Linked DNA regions of Homo sapiens: regions 2 and 3 are each linked to region 1. Evidence: promoter capture Hi-C in 16 types of primary human blood cells and fetal thymus (Javierre and others, 2016). All regions are on one chromosome and are shown on one strand. The core of a region is centred on a gene start or on the middle of the fragment in contact, and the rest is flanking DNA. Distances in the headings are between cores, read along the strand shown. Region 1 holds the start of MSL1 (MSL complex subunit 1). Region 2 holds the start of CSF3 (colony stimulating factor 3). Region 3 overlaps MED24 (mediator complex subunit 24).

What was found. Contacts are between HindIII fragments. The CHiCAGO score rates a contact against its expected background, and 5 or more counts as called.
Region 2: a contact is called between the fragment with the promoter of CSF3 here and the fragment with the promoter of MSL1 in region 1, in 4 of 17 cell types (erythroblasts, M2 macrophages, endothelial precursors and 1 more). The highest score is 6.7, in erythroblasts.
Region 3: a contact is called between a fragment that was not itself captured here and the fragment with the promoter of MSL1 in region 1, in 10 of 17 cell types (endothelial precursors, erythroblasts, M0 macrophages and 7 more). The highest score is 9.4, in endothelial precursors.

The regions. Positions count from the first base shown.
Region 1 is chr17:40,120,457-40,123,579 of GRCh38, forward strand. MSL1 (MSL complex subunit 1) reads left to right here and starts at 1,515. Exons shown (of 9, transcript NM_001365919.1): 1 at 1,515-2,924. The coding sequence starts at 2,157. LOC124904001 (a long non-coding RNA gene) reads right to left here and starts at 1,384. Exons shown (of 2, transcript XR_007065752.1): 1 at 1,328-1,384; 2 at 73-957. RefSeq lists silencers at 966-1,125, 1,356-1,555, 1,596-1,805, 1,866-2,005, 2,106-2,155 and 1 more and an enhancer at 2,356-2,994. The HindIII fragment of the contact is 11,445 bases long and covers 1-3,123 here.
Region 2 is chr17:40,013,905-40,017,027 of GRCh38, forward strand. It overlaps CSF3 (colony stimulating factor 3), which reads left to right and starts at 1,536. Exons shown (of 5, transcript NM_172219.3): 1 at 1,536-1,610; 2 at 1,787-1,941; 3 at 2,329-2,436; 4 at 2,581-2,727; 5 at 2,891-3,123. The coding sequence starts at 1,571. The coding sequence ends at 3,055. It overlaps PSMD3-AS1 (PSMD3 antisense RNA 1), which reads right to left and starts at 737. Exons shown (of 3, transcript NR_198981.1): 1 at 650-737; 2 at 334-455. RefSeq lists an enhancer at 1,446-1,945. The HindIII fragment of the contact is 16,036 bases long and covers 1-3,123 here.
Region 3 is chr17:40,031,815-40,034,937 of GRCh38, forward strand. MED24 (mediator complex subunit 24) reads right to left here. Exons shown (of 26, transcript NM_014815.4): 7 at 1,531-1,642; 8 at 1,242-1,392; 9 at 835-948; 10 at 229-276. Among named protein-coding and RNA genes, the nearest start is that of SNORD124, 5.7 kb to the left of the region's middle. The HindIII fragment of the contact is 1,260 bases long and covers 907-2,166 here.

The sequences.
Region 1 (3,123 bases), core at 265-2,764:
GTCCCTAAGCTCAATACTTCCCTTGCTGATCTGAGGCCATACAGTCTGGTGAAAGAGGGCCGGACTCTTGGCTTCTTAACACATTCACATACGTTTGTTTAAAATTTCCAGTGTTTCATGCTTTCAGCCCACAAAGCACAGACACAGTTTTAATGAGAGGTTTTCACATCAGGCCAGAGAATGTCAGTCTTCTCCATCTCCATAGAGATTTTAAAAAGCACACCTCAGACAAAAAAGAAAAACAAGCAATTAAGACTATTTCAGGGCTGGGCACGGTGGCTCACACCTGTAATCCCACCACTTTGGGAGGCCGAGGCGGGCGGATCACCTGAAGTCGGGAGTTCCAGACCAGCCTGACCAAGGAGAAATCCTGTCTCTACTAAAAATACAAAATTAGCTGGGCGTGGTGGCGCGTGACTGTAATCCCAGCTACTCGGGAGGCTGAGGCAGGAGAATCGCTTGAACCCCGGAGGCGGAGGTTGCAGTGAGCTGAATTTCACCATTGCACTCCAGCCTGGGCGACAGAGTGAGAATCCGTCTCAAAAAAAAAAAACGTTTTTTTCACAAGGAATTCTGAGGACTTGTTGGCTCAATTGCTTGGACATAAAGACACACATACATGAAGCTGGAGAGATAGGAAGAAGCGCTCAACACAGAACACCCTAAGTATCCCTACTCCCTTTCAAGGACTAAATCCCTTCAGAGATTTCCTTTGCTTCAGTCCTTCAGGAGCCTCCCGAAGATGCTAGGAGTCGTTTAAGAAGGCTGGAAGATGGCCGTTGGGAAGGAACTGTTGGTAGCTGGCAATACTTCATCCCAAGGAGGCGGTGGCAATAGCTCCCTGGGCAGCAGACATCATGGATTTTCCTCCCTCTGGGAACCAGAGGTCCCTCCGTTTCTGGTTTGAATCCCTTAGAGACAAAGAACTTCATTCTCTCCCATACCCGCGTGGGACTGCTGGGGAGGAGAGGGGGTGGAGGGGTTAGACTTCTACCCCCATGAAACACCCGCGGGCTCAAAGAGGAGCCTGGATCCTGACTGGTCCAGGAGGCGTGCGGGGCCGCGGGGCCCCTCCGGCTTGGGCCAGGCGCGTTGCCAAGATGCCCGGGGAAGGGGCCGCCCGGCGCAGGCCGGGGACGTGGAGCGCTCGGGGCGCTCCCACGTAGGCCACACATTGGCCGCCTGTATCCTCCTTCTTTCCTCTCAACTCCATTCTCTCGCGCTTTTTTCCCGGGGAGCCTCCGCTTTCCCCTTCTTCCCGCGGCCGCCCTCGCCCTTCTTCCCCCTCCAGACCCTCCCCCGGCTCGCCCCTCCCTCGGCAGCCCACCTTCACCCCGCTCCTCCGCGCGCTCCTCGGTCCTCGCCCCTCAGCCCCGGCCTCCCCTCGCCGGCCCCCGGCCCCCGCGGTCCCCTCCCTGCCCCCCTCGAGGCGGCGGCGGCCCCTTTCACAATAGCGCGGCCCGCCTCCCTCCTCTCGGCTCCCGGTGCACTCCCGCCCGCTCCCCTCCCCGCGCATGCGTCCTCCGGTTGGCGGCGGCTGCGGCGGTGGCGGCTACGAGCGGCTCCGTTTTTTTAAAGGGAAACGCTGAGGCGCCGGGGGTGACTGTGGGGGAGGGGGACCCCGAGCCGCGGAGACCCCCGGGAGAGGCGACAGACCCCCTCTCCCGGAGTAGGAGGGCTTTGGGCGGACCCAGCCCTCCACCCCCTCCTGAGGAGGAGGGGGGGGAAATGGAGGCTCGGGGCGGTTGAGGCGAGCTCCGGGGCGGGGGGCCGGGGCGGGGAAGGGGGGGTGCGGGGTGGGGAGACGAGGCGGGCCCGGCCGGGCCAGGGGGGGCCGAAGCGAGCTCCGGGGATGAGCTCGGGGGCGGCTGGGTGCGAGCTCCTGCCTCTGAGGCGAAGGCGGCGGCGGCGGCAGCAGAGGCGGCGGCGAGGCCCCCATGGGCCGGCGGCGGGCCTCAGCCGCGGCCTCCACGTCTCCGCACGCCGGCGGGATGGCGCCCGGGCCCCGGAGGAGCCGCGCTAGCGGAGGCCTGCTGCCGCGCTGCTGAGGCGAGCCCGCCAAACTCCCCTCCCCCCCCTCAGTCCTCGACCCCCCGCACCTCGCCCCTTCCCCACCCCCTCCTCCGCCTCGGTGCCCGGCGCTGCTCCGGACCACTATGACCATGAGATCCGCGGTGTTCAAGGCGGCCGCGGCCCCTGCCGGCGGCAATCCTGAGCAGCGACTGGACTACGAGCGGGCTGCGGCGCTGGGCGGGCCCGAGGACGAGCCTGGGGCGGCCGAAGCCCACTTCCTCCCCCGGCACCGTAAGCTCAAGGAGCCGGGGCCCCCGCTGGCCTCCTCCCAGGGCGGGAGCCCCGCGCCTTCCCCGGCCGGCTGCGGCGGCAAGGGCCGGGGCTTGTTACTCCCGGCCGGGGCGGCCCCCGGGCAGCAGGAAGAGAGCTGGGGCGGTTCGGTGCCCTTGCCCTGTCCGCCCCCGGCCACCAAGCAAGCCGGCATTGGGGGGGAGCCTGCCGCAGCCGGAGCCGGCTGCAGCCCCCGGCCCAAGTATCAGGCGGTGCTGCCCATTCAGACGGGCTCTCTCGTGGCGGCGGCCAAAGAGCCTACGCCCTGGGCTGGGGACAAGGGTGGGGCGGCCTCCCCCGCTGCCACCGCCTCGGACCCGGCGGGACCCCCACCACTACCTCTGCCCGGGCCGCCACCCCTCGCGCCCACCGCCACCGCCGGGACCCTGGCGGCCAGCGAGGGCAGATGGAAGAGTATGAGGAAGAGCCCTCTCGGGGGTGGTGGCGGCTCGGGAGCCTCCAGTCAGGCCGCCTGCCTCAAACAGATCCTTCTGCTGCAATTGGACCTCATCGAACAGCAGCAGCAGCAGCTGCAGGCCAAGGAAAAGGAGATCGAGGAGCTGAAGTCAGAGAGAGACACGGTACGGGAGGGGTTAATCTGCATTCGGGCCGAGGAGCGAGTTGTGCGCATGCTCGGGGGAAGGGGGCTGTAGGAGGTTAAGGCACCCCCGGGTTAGGGGTAAAGGAGGTTGGCCACCGGCAAAGGAGTATCTTAGGCGCTGGGTCTCTGGGAGCCAGGCTCACAGACACGTTGGGTTGGAGGGAAGGGTTAAAGGGCAA
Region 2 (3,123 bases), core at 286-2,785, 110 kb before region 1:
CAGGGGGCCCCCAAGCACCAGAGATGGCCCCATCCAGTCACCACATCCACTTCTCATCCAGAGATGTCTGTTTCTTGGCACGCTGGGGTAAATTAGGACAGAAGGTGACAGTCTTGGGTGTGGTCAGTCAGACTGCCCCAGGCAGGCCTTGTGGCCTGTAGAAAACGTTCAGGCCTAGGCCGGGCACGGTGGCTCACGCCTGTAATCCCAGCACTTTGGGAGGCCGAGGCGGGTGGATCACGAGGTCAGGAGATCGTGACCATCCTGGCTAACACGGTGAAACCCCGTCTCTACTAAAAATACAAAAAATTGGCCGGGCATGGTGGCGGGCACCTGTAGTTCCAGCTACTCGGGAGGCTGAGGCAGGAGAATGGCGTGAACCCGAGAGGCAGAGTTTGCAGTGAGCCGAGATCGCGCCACTGCACTCCAGCCTGGGCGACAGAGCAAGACTCCATCTGGAAAAGAAAAAGAAAACGTTCAGGTCTGAGCCAGAGGCCCAGGCTGTAATTCTGTCACTTACCATGACCTTGGGCAAGGCACTTCCTTCCCTGGCCCAGTTCACGGGGTTGGAATCGACTCCAAGGTCCCTTCCAGCATTAACGCTGCATGGTTCTAAGATGAGAAGATGGGGCAGTTTCCCCTCTCTCACCCCAGCCCGTGTCCACTTCAAGGTGAATGACCAGGGAAGTCACGTGTCCCAATCCCGCAGTTCCAAAGCCCTTGGGGACCCTACTGTCAGGGTCGTGCACGAGGAGGTGAAGGTCAGGTGAGCCAATCGCCTCGAAGGGTCTTGCCTCATTCGGGACAGACATCCGGTTTCCTCTGGCTCTACCGGGATTCTAGGGGCTTTAGCCGAATGAGTCATGGGGGGCGGGGGGGTTTCTGGGGGAGTTCCCAGCTAATCAACTTGGGACAGGACAGCCTGGAACTTTCGATGGTGCCTATCCAAGTGTGGGGTGGGCACAGCAGCCAAGACCCAATGTCCTTATCTCAGGTAGGGGCTCAGGAGGTCTCCCAGACAGGCAGCCTCCGGAGAGTTTGGGGGTAGGAATGGGAGCAACCAGCTTCTTTTTTTCTCTCTTAGAATTTGGGGGCTTGGGGGACAGGCTTGAGAATCCCAAAGGAGAGGGGCAAAGGACACTGCCCCCGCAAGTCTGCCAGAGCAGAGAGGGAGACCCCGACTCAGCTGCCACTTCCCCACAGGCTGCTGCCGCTTCCAGGCGTCTATCAGCGGCTCAGCCTTTGTTCAGCTGTTCTGTTCAAACACTCTGGGGCCATTCAGGCCTGGGTGGGGCAGCGGGAGGAAGGGAGTTTGAGGGGGGCAAGGCGACGTCAAAGGAGGATCAGAGATTCCACAATTTCACAAAACTTTCGCAAACAGCTTTTTGTTCCAACCCCCCTGCATTGTCTTGGACACCAAATTTGCATAAATCCTGGGAAGTTATTACTAAGCCTTAGTCGTGGCCCCAGGTAATTTCCTCCCAGGCCTCCATGGGGTTATGTATAAAGGCCCCCCTAGAGCTGGGCCCCAAAACAGCCCGGAGCCTGCAGCCCAGCCCCACCCAGACCCATGGCTGGACCTGCCACCCAGAGCCCCATGAAGCTGATGGGTGAGTGTCTTGGCCCAGGATGGGAGAGCCGCCTGCCCTGGCATGGGAGGGAGGCTGGTGTGACAGAGGGGCTGGGGATCCCCGTTCTGGGAATGGGGATTAAAGGCACCCAGTGTCCCCGAGAGGGCCTCAGGTGGTAGGGAACAGCATGTCTCCTGAGCCCGCTCTGTCCCCAGCCCTGCAGCTGCTGCTGTGGCACAGTGCACTCTGGACAGTGCAGGAAGCCACCCCCCTGGGCCCTGCCAGCTCCCTGCCCCAGAGCTTCCTGCTCAAGTGCTTAGAGCAAGTGAGGAAGATCCAGGGCGATGGCGCAGCGCTCCAGGAGAAGCTGGTGAGTGAGGTGGGTGAGAGGGCTGTGGAGGGAAGCCCGGTGGGGAGAGCTAAGGGGGATGGAACTGCAGGGCCAACATCCTCTGGAAGGGACGTGGGAGAATATTAGGAGCAGTGGAGCTGGGGAAGGCTGGGAAGGGACTTGGGGAGGAGGACCTTGGTGGGGACAGTGCTCGGGAGGGCTGGCTGGGATGGGAGTGGAGGCATTACATTCAGGAGAAAGGGCAAGGGCCCCTGTGAGATCAGAGAGTGGGGGTGCAGGGCAGAGAGGAACTGAACAGCCTGGCAGGACATGGAGGGAGGGGAAAGACCAGAGAGTCGGGGAGGACCCGGGAAGGAGCGGCGACCCGGCCATGGCGAGTCTCACTCAGCATCCTTCCATCCCCAGTGTGCCACCTACAAGCTGTGCCACCCCGAGGAGCTGGTGCTGCTCGGACACTCTCTGGGCATCCCCTGGGCTCCCCTGAGCAGCTGCCCCAGCCAGGCCCTGCAGCTGGTGAGTGTCAGGAAAGGATAAGGCTAATGAGGAGGGGGAAGGAGAGGAGGAACACCCATGGGCTCCCCCATGTCTCCAGGTTCCAAGCTGGGGGCCTGACGTATCTCAGGCAGCACCCCCTAACTCTTCCGCTCTGTCTCACAGGCAGGCTGCTTGAGCCAACTCCATAGCGGCCTTTTCCTCTACCAGGGGCTCCTGCAGGCCCTGGAAGGGATCTCCCCCGAGTTGGGTCCCACCTTGGACACACTGCAGCTGGACGTCGCCGACTTTGCCACCACCATCTGGCAGCAGGTGAGCCTTGTTGGGCAGGGTGGCCAAGGTCGTGCTGGCATTCTGGGCACCACAGCCAGGCCTGTGTATGGGCCCTGTCCATGCTGTCACCCCCAGCATTTCCTCATTTGTAATAACGCCCACTCAGAAGGGCCCAACCACTGATCACAGCTTTCCCCCACAGATGGAAGAACTGGGAATGGCCCCTGCCCTGCAGCCCACCCAGGGTGCCATGCCGGCCTTCGCCTCTGCTTTCCAGCGCCGGGCAGGAGGGGTCCTGGTTGCCTCCCATCTGCAGAGCTTCCTGGAGGTGTCGTACCGCGTTCTACGCCACCTTGCCCAGCCCTGAGCCAAGCCCTCCCCATCCCATGTATTTATCTCTATTTAATATTTATGTCTATTTAAGCCTCATATTTA
Region 3 (3,123 bases), core at 287-2,786, 89 kb before region 1:
CACACGCTGAAACACACACACTGAAGCACGCACACACTGAAGCACACGCACATGCTGAAGCACACGCACATGCTGAAGCATGCACATTGTGAAGCACGTGCACGCTGAGGTGTACACTCACATCCGGCTCTCTTCCAGGCATGAGAACACTGCCCAGCTGGGGCCTGAAGGACCCTCCCCTTTGCCCTTATTTCTGCTCCCATGCCTCCATCTCAATCCCCAACTCACCTTGTCTCCATGAGAGTACTTCTTCAACTTCACCAAAACCTGTGGAATCTAGGGGGTGAGGCAGGGGGAAAAACAGGAAGATCCATTTCTTTTCTCTTTCATCTACCCCTGAAGGCATCCCCCCGAACCCCTGCTCCAGGAAGAGAGACAGGAACACTCCTACCCTGGGAGTGAGAGCACACTTAGTGCTAAATGAGAAAGCCAATAGGTGCCCAGGCCCCTGATGCCCCCAGGCCTAGGCACAGGACACAAGCACCCTGCACCTCCGCTAGCTCAACAGAAAAAGATGCCATAAGCAAAAGTGGATCCCCAGCTTCAAGGAGGACTGGGGCCCCTTTCCCTGGCTCCCTTTACTGCCCTGCACCTATCTGTCTGATGACCAAGCTAAACTGCACCTCTGTGGTAAGAAACAACGGAGTCTGCCAAATGGGCTAAATATAGCCCTGGCACTTTCAGAGAAAATGATCAATGGGAACTTGCACTGGAATACCTGGCAGGCTGGGCCCAGTGCCCGCAGGGAGGAACACAGGGCAAAGGTCCAGGGTGCCACTGGTCTTGCTAAGAACCATTCCTAGACTGGCTCTGCCCCTCCCACGTCCCCAGTACCTTGAGGAAAGTGAAAGCTGTCCACTTGAGCTCCTCCGTACCCTCGGGAGACTCAATGAGCCCCACGAAGCAAGCTTTCCAGATCTCCAGGACAAAAAGTGGGGTGGGGATATGCTGTGGGAAGAGCCAAGGATGAGGCCTAAGAGGGTGCCCATACCCCGTCACCCTTCTGTGGACTCTGAGGATTTGGCTGGGTCAGAGACTGCATGGCAGAGTCACTGCTCAGCTATGTGCTGAGAACCAGGGGAGTAAGGTCCAATGACAGAAGTGTGCACGACTGGCACCCACTTTCCATCATGGAGCAGGAGAAACCCCACTTCTCCCAGGGAGAACCAGAAGAATCCTCCCTCCTGCCCCCAACAGGCTGGCCTGCCTTGGAGAAGGGAGAGCCACTCGGCCCCTCCCACCTGCATGCGCTTCACCATCGTCAGCTGCTCCACCAGGGACTGCGTCTCGCCTGTCAGGTTCATGGTGCCCTCGAGCAGGATCACGGCGTGGACAGTGGGGAAGCCGGTCTTGTGCATCTGCTCCGCATGCACAGACAGCATCGTGGGGATGCTGAGGGGTCACAAACACAGGGGACGGTGTTTGGGGGGCCAAAGGTGAAGGCGGAGAGGATGGCACGGGTGCCACATCTTCCTACCCCAGGGCGTGTCCTCCCTCTCCCTTCTCCACCATCCCCCAGGGAGCCGGTACCTCCTAATGAGGGTGCCACACTGCTCGGCCTGACTCCGGAGCTGCGGGTTGCTGAGATTGGCCAGGATCTCTCCAAGTTTCAAGAGAGAATGCTCGATGGCAGTCCAAGAAGCTGGCAGAGGGAAGGAAGTACAGAAACATGATGGGAAACAGGAGAGAAGGAGCACCTGGCCCTGAACTCCTCGATTTTGGCACTCCCTCCGGCACACGAAACCACACAGGAAGGCTTCCCCTGAGGACAACAGGGAGGGAGGGGCCTGAGGGCAGCATGCACTGTTTCCAGAAGGGGGGTGGGCACCTAGAGCTGGAAACCCCAGAGACCATTCCCAAAAGCCTGATTTCCAGGGGACACAGCCAGCTGACTTCAGAAGGTATGGCATCACACAGGCTCAGGAGAGAGAGGCAGAGGGAGGCCAGAATCCAGTGGCTGGAACAGGGAGGGCGGCCACAAATCACTCGAGGAGTGAGCGGATCCCAAAGTCCAGTCTTGCAGAGGCTGTCACTCTCCTCTGGGGGAACTGGGTCCCTAAATGGCTTTCTCATTCTCAACCACTCCCTCATCTAGGCATTGCGTTTGCTGCCCTCCCCTGCTGAAGGCCTCTTACACACTCTCTCTCAAACTCCCACCATGCTCTAAGCTTCTGTTCAAGCCCCAGTTCCTTTAGCAACTCACCCGACTGGTCTAACTCACTGTTCTCTCCTTAATGCCCACACTCATGGTCTAAGCCATATTGGTTAGCACTGAACTATAAGTTACTTATCCTAGTTACAATTCCAGAGGGTCAAATGATGAATAATGGCACCAACTAGCCCATTAACCTCCATGGAGCATAAAAGGGGGAAAAAAAGACAAGACCTGAGATCCATTAAAATTCAGTATTCATCCGATTTTCAGCCAATAAACATTTATCAAGGGCCCAAGGTAGGGAAGAGGCTGTCAACACAGTCCATTTTTATATAAAGATTGTCTTTTTGGACTTTTCACAGGCAGTAAAACATACTTGGGGAAGAAATAAATATACTAGTCCTAAAACAAGCTCTCCAACCAGGTCCTGAAGCCTCGAGAGTAGCCCATTCTAGCATTCTTGTTCCTGGAGAACAAGAGACCTGTAGGTGGTCCCAAGCCACTTGGGCTTCAAGGAGCAAGACTATGGCCTTAGGACCCCATTGCTGGAAATACTGGCATCTTCCCTCCCGCCAGGTGATCTGTCTGTTCTCAGGCTCTGGAAAGTACCCAAACTTAACATCTGAACTTGAGTCAAGAGGCATATGGTACAACAGGCCCAACAGCAGACAGGCACTGTGTTAAAAGGGGCATTTTAGGTAACATTCAAATACAAGAGTCATCTGCTTCCAAGCGATGAGTAACATGGAGACAAACACAATAATGGACACTGTGCTTGTCTTGTCCTCTAGTTTTTTCCTCGTCTGTGATGTACTAGTCTTGCTACCCACTAGCAGCTATGCTTGATGAGGGCAGGGACCCTGCCACATGCTCCTTTGGTAGCCCCCCACCCCCCACCCCCAGCACCTAGCACAGTGCTGGGTATACAACAATGCTCAGTAAATACCTGTTGGTTGATTGGCTCGGGT